Regions from separate parts of the Homo sapiens genome. Here region 2 is linked to region 1. Evidence: promoter capture Hi-C in human tissues and cell types (Jung and others, 2019). All regions are on one chromosome and are shown on one strand. The core of a region is centred on a gene start or on the middle of the fragment in contact, and the rest is flanking DNA. Distances in the headings are between cores, read along the strand shown.

Region 1 (4,528 bases), core at 885-3,384:
AAAAAAAAAAAAAAAAAAAGAAAAAAAAGAAAAAAGAAAGAAGTGTGATGTCCCCTCCCCAAAGAAATATTCAAAGCAAAAAAAAAAAAAAATTACTTGCTGATTTTTCTGGAAAACTTTTAGAACGCTACCCTTCTGTCTTGGAAATACCACTTCCCCAATATCATACCCCACGAATGTTACTATAGTAAAACTGAAGAGTCTACAATGTTATCCCGCATTCTGTTGCATTGTTGTAAACAAACAAGGGCAAGATTCTTGTCAAGGGAATTAATGTGTGTACTGAGCATATTAAGCACTCTTATGAGCTGATAGCTTCCTGAAACTCGCCCCCCTTCTGTCTTGGAAATACCACTTCCTATTAAGAGGGGTTTACTACTTCACAAGCAATCCGTTCCTCTAGGTGAGTAACAATTCCAGAGTACTGCACTGGGCTTTCCCTTCCATCTGTCACTTCCTCACAGCCTTCTACATGAAGAGGAAGAGAAAACAAGAAGGAAAGAATAAAACAAGGAACACAGAGAAGTTGGAAATTTTTTGAATCTCTCTGAGGATATGTGAAACAAAAACTGCAGCAGCAGCAAAAAAAGACACCCAAACAAAGGACAAAGCTATCGTAAAGAGTATGCCAAAGACTGTGAAACAGAAGACGCTGAGAAGCACAAAGAAGGACGGTTTTTACTTTAAAAACTGGCAAATTTTAGAAGTCTGATTCCTTAAAATAAAAAAGTCCAAATCCAAAACAACCTGAAACATCAATAAACAAATCTTTGACCATCCCTATCTTCAGGAAATAAAACTAAACAACACTAATGTGGGTAGATGTAAAGAGAGAAAGGCGGCCAGGCGCGGTGGCTCACGCCTGTAATCCCAGCACTTTGGGAGGCCGAGGCGAGCGGACACCTAAGATTGGGAGTTCGAGACCAGCCTGACCAACATGGAGAAACCCCATCTCTACCAAAAATACAAAATTAGCCGGGCATGGTGGTGCATGCCTGTAATCCCAGCTGCTCGGGAGGCTGAGGCAGGAGAATCGCTTGAACCCGGGAGGCGGAGGTTGTGGTGAGCCGAGATCGCGCCATTGCACTCCAGCCTGGGCGACAAGAGCGAAACTCCGTCTCAATTAATAAATAAAGACAAAAAGGCTATACATAGATAAACTATTTGGATTAACCAATAATGAACATTATCTATTATTTTATAATCATAAAGTAAGTGATTTGGACAGGGAAATTGGATGGTGATGGGCTATTAAAGTTAACAAGAGGAAAATCAGTATTTTTTTAGAGAAGGCTTTCTAGTGGAGGTTAAACTCCACACTGGCCAAATAGCAACAGGAGCTTAGCGGTGTTCCAACCAACCACAGGAAATAGCTCAGAGGGGGAGTGAACTGATTATATGAATGGGGCATTGAGTAAGGGAGCCTGAGAGAAGGGGAATCGTCAAGGGGAATAAGGCTGGTTCAGCGTGCACTAAAGTCTCCAAACTGGAGAGAGGAGGCAGCAAAAAAGTGCAAGAAGAAAAAGTACAGTAGTTTCTTATCTCGACAGGCAAGTTAAGGACTAGGGGTTGCACTACCTGGAAAGCTAGCAAACGCCCTGGGAGTGAAAAATTTCCAGAGAGGGCCCTTCCTGGAAAAACGCAGCCCCGGTGTTCCCTGATTTCCTGGCTGGGTACCATCGGGCAGTGGACTGGAGAGGCGCAGGGATGTTTTAGGCAGGTGTCTCTTGGGTGTTGGCGTGGACTACATAGCGGAGGTTCAGCCGCGGGACTAGCATTGAGCGACAAGAAGGCGGCGGCGCGTGCAAACCACAAGACTTACCTTACTGTCATCCATCGCGGCAGACAGGCCGGCCTGGCCAGGCACTCCCTCCCGGAGCCCTCCCCCGGCTCAGCCGGCCTGGCCCGGCCCCCGCCCCGAGGAAGAAGGGGATATGGTTCTGGCTGCCTCCTCCTCTCGCCTAACAGTTCGCTTCCCTGATGCCAGAGTCACGGGGACGAGGGACCAGTTCAGGAATGGCAGAGCGGACCCTGGAGGCGGCCCCAAACGCCTCCCTTCGCCGCCGCCGCCTCCTCCTCCCCCTCCATGACAGTCTCTGGGTGTTTACAGACGCTCTGGAGAGCCGCCGAGACCGGAGGGTGGGCGGGAGCGCTGCACACGGAATGGCCCCTTCGGCTGCCGTAGCACCGCGGCATTCTGGGAATTGTGATTTTTCTTATCACAGTCTCTGCGCTACTGACTGGAAAAAAAACTACGATGTCCACATAGCCTCATTAAGGGGCAGCTGTTTTCCTTTTGCCTACTAGCTAGCGCTGAGGAGGCGGGGCTGGGCTGGAGGCCCAAAGTGCGCCTGACCTGAGGTTTTGGCTCCTAAGTGCCAGGGCCTGGAATGGCGGGGACGGGAGTTTGGTGCTCTGCGGAGGCAGCCCTGAAGGCGGGGTGCCGGAAGCAGGCCCTCCTCTGGGACGCTGAGGAAACCCTAAAGGTTCTTTATTTAAAAAAAAACGAAAAACAAAAACTAAGTATGTAAAATAGTGCAGCTACTTTGGGAAGAAATTTGGCAGTTCTTCAGAATATTGGCCACTCCCATACCCAAGAGAAATTAAAACGAGTGACTACACAAAAACTTGTATATAAATGTTCTTTCCTAGCAGCATTATTCATAATAGTCAAAAAGTGGAAACAACGCAAATGTCCTTTACTGGATGAATGGATAAACCAGTGTGGACTATACAAATTAAGAAATACTGGCCAGGGGTGGTGGGTCACGCCTGTAATCCCAGCACGTTGGGAGGCCGAGGCGGGAGGATTGCTTTAGCCCAAGAGTTCGAGACCAGCCTGGGCAACATAGCAAAACCTGTCTCTACAAAAAAATACAAAAATTAGTCGAGTGTGGTGGCACATGCCTGTAATCCCAGTTACTGGGGAGGCTGACATGAGAGGATCACTTGGGCCTGGGAGGCAGAGGCTGCAATAAGCCAAGATTGTACCACTGCACTCCAGCCTGGGCGACAGAGCCAGACACTGTATTTAAAAAAAAAAAAAAGAAGAAGAAGAATGAAAGAAGGAAGAAGAACGATGAAGGAAGAAGAAGGAGAAGAAGGAAGAAGAAAGAAGAAGGAAGAAGACCCATATAGTAAGATGCAGTCTCTACAAAAAAAATTAAAAATTAGTTGGGTGTGTTACAAAAAATTTAAAAATTACTTGGGTGTGGTGGTGGTGCTTGTAGTCCTAGCCACTCGGGAGGCCCAGGTGGGAGGATCGTTTGAGCCCTGGAGTTGGAGGCTGAAGTGAGCTGTGATCACGGCACTCCAGCCTGGGCAACAGAGCAAGACTCTGTCTCAAAAAAAAAGGAAAGAAATATTATTCAGCAATGAAAAAAAATGAAGGGATATACACACTTCAATATGTCTGAACCTTGAAAACTTTATGTGAAGTGAAAAAAGCCAGACACAATAGGCCACATATTGTATGATTCCATTTATAATGAAGTGTCTGGAACAGGCACATCTAAATAGACCAAAAAATCCATTAGTGGTTGCCAAGGGCTAGGGTTGAAGAATGGCAGGGATGGAGGGATCCTGGAAAGGAGAGTGACGGTTAATGAGTACTGGGTTTCTTTTTGAGGTGATGAAAATGATCTAAAATTCAGCCGGGCATGGTGGCTCACGCCTGTAATCCCAGCACTTTGGGAGGCCGAGGTGGGCTGATCACCTGAGGTCAGGAGTTCGAGACCAGCCTGACCAACATGGAGAAACCCATCTCTACTAAAAATACAAAGTTGGCCAGGCCTGGGAGAGCATACCTGTAATCCCAGCTACGTGGGAGGCTGAGGCAGGAGAATGGCTTAAACCCAGGAGGCGGAGGTTGCAGTGAGTTGAGACCGTGCCATTGCACTCCAGCCTGAGCAACAAGAGCGAAACTCCGACTCAAAAAAAAAAAAAAAAAAAAAGAAGAAAAGAAAATTATCTAAAATTGATTTTGGTGATGGTTGCACATCCTGTGAATATATTAAAAACCACTAAATTGTAGTTTAACTGTAGTTAAACCACTTTAAATGAGTGGATTATATCTCAATAAAGTTATTTTAAAAATAACTGGCTGTGTCCTCATTTAATAAAGTCAGTGAGCTTGTTTTTACTGTTGTTTTTGTTTTGGCCTACCTCGGGCCTTTGAGAACTTGACAAAGATTGCATATTTGTCAATGCTGCTCCTGAAGAGCCCTTTGGCTCACACCTTTTCAAAGACTCACAAAGTGCTTTCTCAACCCTTGCAAAATCCAACTGAGGTAGAGTTCTCAGATTTAGCAATATAGACACAGAATACTCAATTACATTCGAATTTCAGATAAACCGCAAATACTCTTTTAGGAAAGTGTGTCCCATGCAACTTTTTTTTTTTTTTTTGAGACAGAGTTTCGCTCTGTCACCCAGGCTGGAGTGCAGTGGTGCAATCTCGGCTCATTACAGCCTCTGCCTCCCAGGTTCATGCCATTCTCCTGCCTCAGCCTCCCGAGTAGCTGGGACT
Region 2 (4,528 bases), core at 1,425-3,924, 530 kb after region 1:
CATGAGCCACCCTGCCTGGCCATTCCCAGAAATTCTTAATAACTTTGTGGAGCTGTCATATCATGCCTGAGCTGCCAAACTTTTGTCCTCTTTTAAAGGAGAGAAAAGCAAACCTGTATATTATTTAAGCCATGGGTATTTGAGTGTTCCACTGTATATCGCTGAACCTCACCTTAACTATAACATTCCACGTGAGCAAATCGTAGCTATGGAGAAACAAAAGATTCACAAGTGAAAGAGCCTGGGTTGGTAGTCTTTAAAACTGGTGTTATTGTCCATTTCTCTGCATCCTGAGGCCTCTTCCTAACAGAGTTTGGTCTTGGGACATAATCTCACAGTTCCCATGTAAGCCCGGTACTGAGGCCTGGCAGTGGCTGTACAAGGCTACATAGTGACTTACAGTTAAAATAACCCAGGTGAGGCCAGGCACGGTGGCTCACGCCTGTAATCCCAGCACTTTGGGAGGCTGAGGCGGACAGATCACGAGGCCAGGAGATCGAGACCATCCTGGCTAACACGATGAAACCCTGTCTCTACTAAAAATACAAAAAATTAGCCGGGCGTGGTGGTGGGCGCCCGTAGTCCCAGCTACTCGGGAGGCTGAGGCAGGAGAATGGTGTGAACCCAGGAGGCAGAGGTTGCAGTGAGCCGAGATCAGGCCACTGCACTCCAGCCTGGGTGACAGAGCAAGACTCTGTCTCAAAAACAACAAACAAACAAACAAAAAAGAACCCAGGAGAAACCAAATTTGCAAGGCCTGATTTGTATGTGGCAAAATAGAAATAGAATGTGAGGCTCTCTTGGATCACGCTCAATGTAAAACCGACACAAGTAACACAAGTAAAAAACACACAATTAACTGACTAAATGCAAGCGTGAGGAGAAAGGTGATAAGGGAAGATAAGCTGTAAATATGTGTTTAAAGCCTTCTTAGGAGGTAATCATTTTTCATTTTTTATGGAGAATATTATTCAGCCATAGGTACTATTCAGCTATTCAGCACATTAACACATCACCTAAGTGTTTTTGAATGTAATCTTTAATTCTCAATCTCACATAAAAGTTTTCTTTCCCTACTGAAAAAAGAAATAAAAGCTTCTCTTGAAATTTTAGAAAATAAAAAAAATGTCAAATGACACTCCAGTAAATACTGAAATACAGAATGCAATTTATCTCAGGAAAAACCAGAAGACTAAGGTCTGTAAAAGCTTTCTCTGTCTGCTGGCAAAGTCCACAGTACAGGCCAAGTAGAAAAGCCTATTTAGGTGCCTCCAAACTGTTCTTTGCCCCAGAGCCCAGATGCCACCCCCGGCAGAAGAAGCCATGGCTGGGTGAGGGCAGCTGAGGGGTGGGGAGGCAGATGTGGAGGGAAGGACCACAGGGGGCCGCTCCCTCTTGCCCTAGACCTGCCCTAGCTGGGCAGAGTTCAGAGAGCAGATGCCTTGCTGTAAAAATGAAACAAGTCTAGGGAGAGGCCTGGACTTCTGGTGAGTCCAGGCTCTGCTACTTCCTGGATGTTTCCTTGGTAAGCCCTTTTTGTGGGACTCCCATTTCCTCATCCTGTCTGTGCCATGAGGTTCCCTCAGATGATCCTGACCATAACTCCCACTGTTCTAAACATCTGAAACTCTAATGGGAAAAGGGAGTTTCCTTGATCATAGTGAGTGATCTAAAGCTGTCTATGAGTGGGCTGATTCTCCAAGCAAGCCAGGACTGTCACATTTAAAAACTGAGACATTACTGCCACCTCTTGACTAATTATTGACAAGTTACCCAGGCCAATGAAACTCAGCAGGAGGGGGCCTTTCTTTTAAAATCTGGCTTTGCGGCTGGGTGCAGTGGCTCACACTTGTAATCCCAGCACTTCGGGAGCCCAAGGTGGGCAGATCACGAGGTCAGGAGTTCGAGGCCAGCCTGACCAACATGGTGAAACGCTGTCTCTACTAAAAATACAAAAATTAGCCAGGCCTGGTGGTGCGCGCCTGTGATCCCAGCTACTCAGGAGGCTGAGGCAGGAGAATTGCTTGAACCTGGGAGGCGGAGCTTGCAGTGAGCCGAGATTACACCACAGCACTCCAGCCTGGGCGACAGAGCAAGACTCCATCTAAAACACCTTAAAAAAAAAAAAAAAATCTGGGCTTTGGGCACTGGGCTTTGTTGAAGGGGAAGAAGATGCTTATGCCAAGGTGTGCGCATGAAGGGCAACTGTCTTTTTTTTTTTTTTTTTGGAGACAGAGTCTCATTATGTCACCCAGAGCTGGGGTGCAGTGATGTGATCTTCGCTCACTGCAGCCTTGACCTCCTGAGCTCAAGTGATCCTTCCACCTCAGCCTCCATAGTAGCTGGGACAACAGGCATGTGCCACCATGCCTCGCTAATTTTTTTATTTTAATTTTTTAATGGAGACAGGGTCTTGCTATGATGCCAGGCTGATCTCAAACTCTTGGTGTCAAGTGATCCTCCTGCCTTGGTTTCCCACAGTGCTGAGAGTATCGACGTGATGGGCTCTCACTCTGTCACCCAGGCTGGAGTGCAGTGGCATCATCTTGGCTCACTGCAACCTCTACTTCCCAGGCTCAAGCCATCCTCCCACCTCAGCCTCCCGAGTAGCCAGGACCACAGGCGTGCACCACCATGTCTGACTAATTTTTTTGTATTTTTTGGTAGAGACAGGGTTTTGCCATGTTGCTAAGGCTGGTCTTGAACTCCTGAGCTCAACCGATCCACCCACCTTGGCCTCCCAAAGTGCTGGGATTACAGGTATGAGCCTCAGTGCCTGGTGAAAATGTTTCATTAAGTACAATTAATTTTGTCCAACTGAGGGAAGATTTTGTCTAAATGCTTCTCAGTTGTTTTTGTAGGATGGTTTGTACTTTGTCAAGAGTCCTTTTACTCTTGCTCTCTGATCTTCCCATCAACCATACGAGGTGGAGAGAGTGGGGTACCCAATGTACAGATGGAAACACAGAGGCCCTGAGCGAATGAGTTGACTTAGGAAGAGCAGCGGCCCAGGCAGCCCAAGCAAGCCCCTGGTTAGGGCTCGTTCTTTTTTTTTTTTTTTTTTGAGACAAAGTCTTACCCTGTAGCTCAGGCTGGAGTGCAGTGATGCAATCTCGGCTCACTGCAACCTCCGCCTCCCAGGTTCAAGCGATTCTCTTGCCCCAGCCTCCCGAGTAGCTGGGAATACAAGCATGCGCCACCATGCCCGGCTAATTTTTTGTATCTTTAGTAGAGACGGGTTTTCACTATGTTGGCCAGGCTAGTCTTGAACTCCTGACCTTATGATCTGCCCACCTCAACCTTCCAAAGTGCTGGAATTACAGGCATGAGCCACTGCGCCTAGCCTCCTTCTTTTATATTGGTGTCTGGTACAGAGGACTAGGAATTTGGGAAACAAGCTTATTTATAGACAGTGGAGAAAGAAAACCAGTCCCAGCACCCTTAACTTCCATCATTTCCTTTTAGTCATTTTTTTTTTTTTGACGGAGTCTCACTCTGTCACCCAAGCTGGAGTGCAGTGATGCCATCTTGGCTCACTGCAAGCTCCGCCTGCTGGGTTCACGCCATTCTCCTGCCTCAGCCTCCCGAGTAGCTGGGACTACAGGCACCCGCCAACACGCCCGGCTAATTTTTTGTATTTTTTAGTGGAGACGGGGTTTTACCGTGTTAGCCAGGATGGTCTCAATCTCCTGACCTCATGATCCACCCGCCTTGGCCTCCCAGAGTGCTGGGATTACAGGCGTGAGCCACCGCGCCCAGGCAGCAACTCCTTTTAGTCTTGAGAAAAGCAGGGCAATTATGATTGAACACTAATAAGTTGGAAAGCTGAGGCACAACGCATGCCTTCTCTAAAGCCACTTTACAACATGAGAAGAGATGTACCACTCTGGACACAAAGAAGGGAAAAACCAGGAAGCGGGAGAGAAAGAAATCCCAGATGCCTACCTTCATGCTCCAAGCACTGCTCCACGTTAGAAAGACACCTGGACCACTGCTGGCTGTGCGAATCTTGGTATTCCAACGTCCTTTGACCCTGAGCAGAGACCTTGGCAGGCGTGCTCTGCGAATCTTCCTTCTCCACTACTCCAAAGAATGCTTTCCAAGAAGACTTTTTCTTGCCAAGGTTTATGGCCTTCTCACTGGATTGGGAATTTCTGCAAGGCCATGACACCTCTGTCCATGACTCATTTGCTGAACAATTCCCCAGGCCCCTCTGGGACAAACTTCTTGTTCTCAGCAGCTTTGGTGAGAAGAGAGCAGGGGTGCTCTTGAAGACATGATGTCTGGTGTAGTAGGCGAGGATTTTGAATTCTATGGTGTTTAGGTCATCATCATCTAGGGGGATTTCTTCCAGGTCACACCCACTGGTGCTACACATGTTGGGCCTGTAACAACAAAGTCCACACTGTGCCCTTCTATGCAGGGCCACTTACCCTTTGCAGGTTAGGAGAGACAGGGGTGAAAACTCAGGAAACATTTATTGAACATCTATTGTGTTTGTGCTGGAGGGTAGAGAGGGAAAAGCCAC

What was found. Contacts are between HindIII fragments. The study calls those that stand out against the background at their distance.
Region 2: a fragment that was not itself captured here is called in contact with the fragment with the promoter of CREBL2 in region 1 in 1 of the 25 tissues and cell types used here (mesenchymal stem cells).

What each region holds. Positions count from the first base shown.
Region 1 is chr12:12,609,482-12,614,009 of GRCh38, reverse strand. CREBL2 (cAMP responsive element binding protein like 2) reads right to left here and starts at 2,134. Exons shown (of 4, transcript NM_001310.4): 1 at 1,823-2,134. The coding sequence starts at 1,837. RefSeq lists a silencer at 1,781-2,080 and enhancers at 2,241-2,290, 2,341-2,420, 2,014-2,765. The HindIII fragment of the contact is 23,854 bases long and covers 1-4,528 here.
Region 2 is chr12:12,079,156-12,083,683 of GRCh38, reverse strand. BCL2L14 (BCL2 like 14) reads right to left here. Exons shown (of 6, transcript NM_138723.2): 2 at 3,946-4,385. The coding sequence starts at 4,378. Among named protein-coding and RNA genes, the nearest start is that of BCL2L14, 10 kb to the right of the region's middle. RefSeq lists a silencer at 1,555-1,849. The HindIII fragment of the contact is 3,043 bases long and covers 1,153-4,195 here.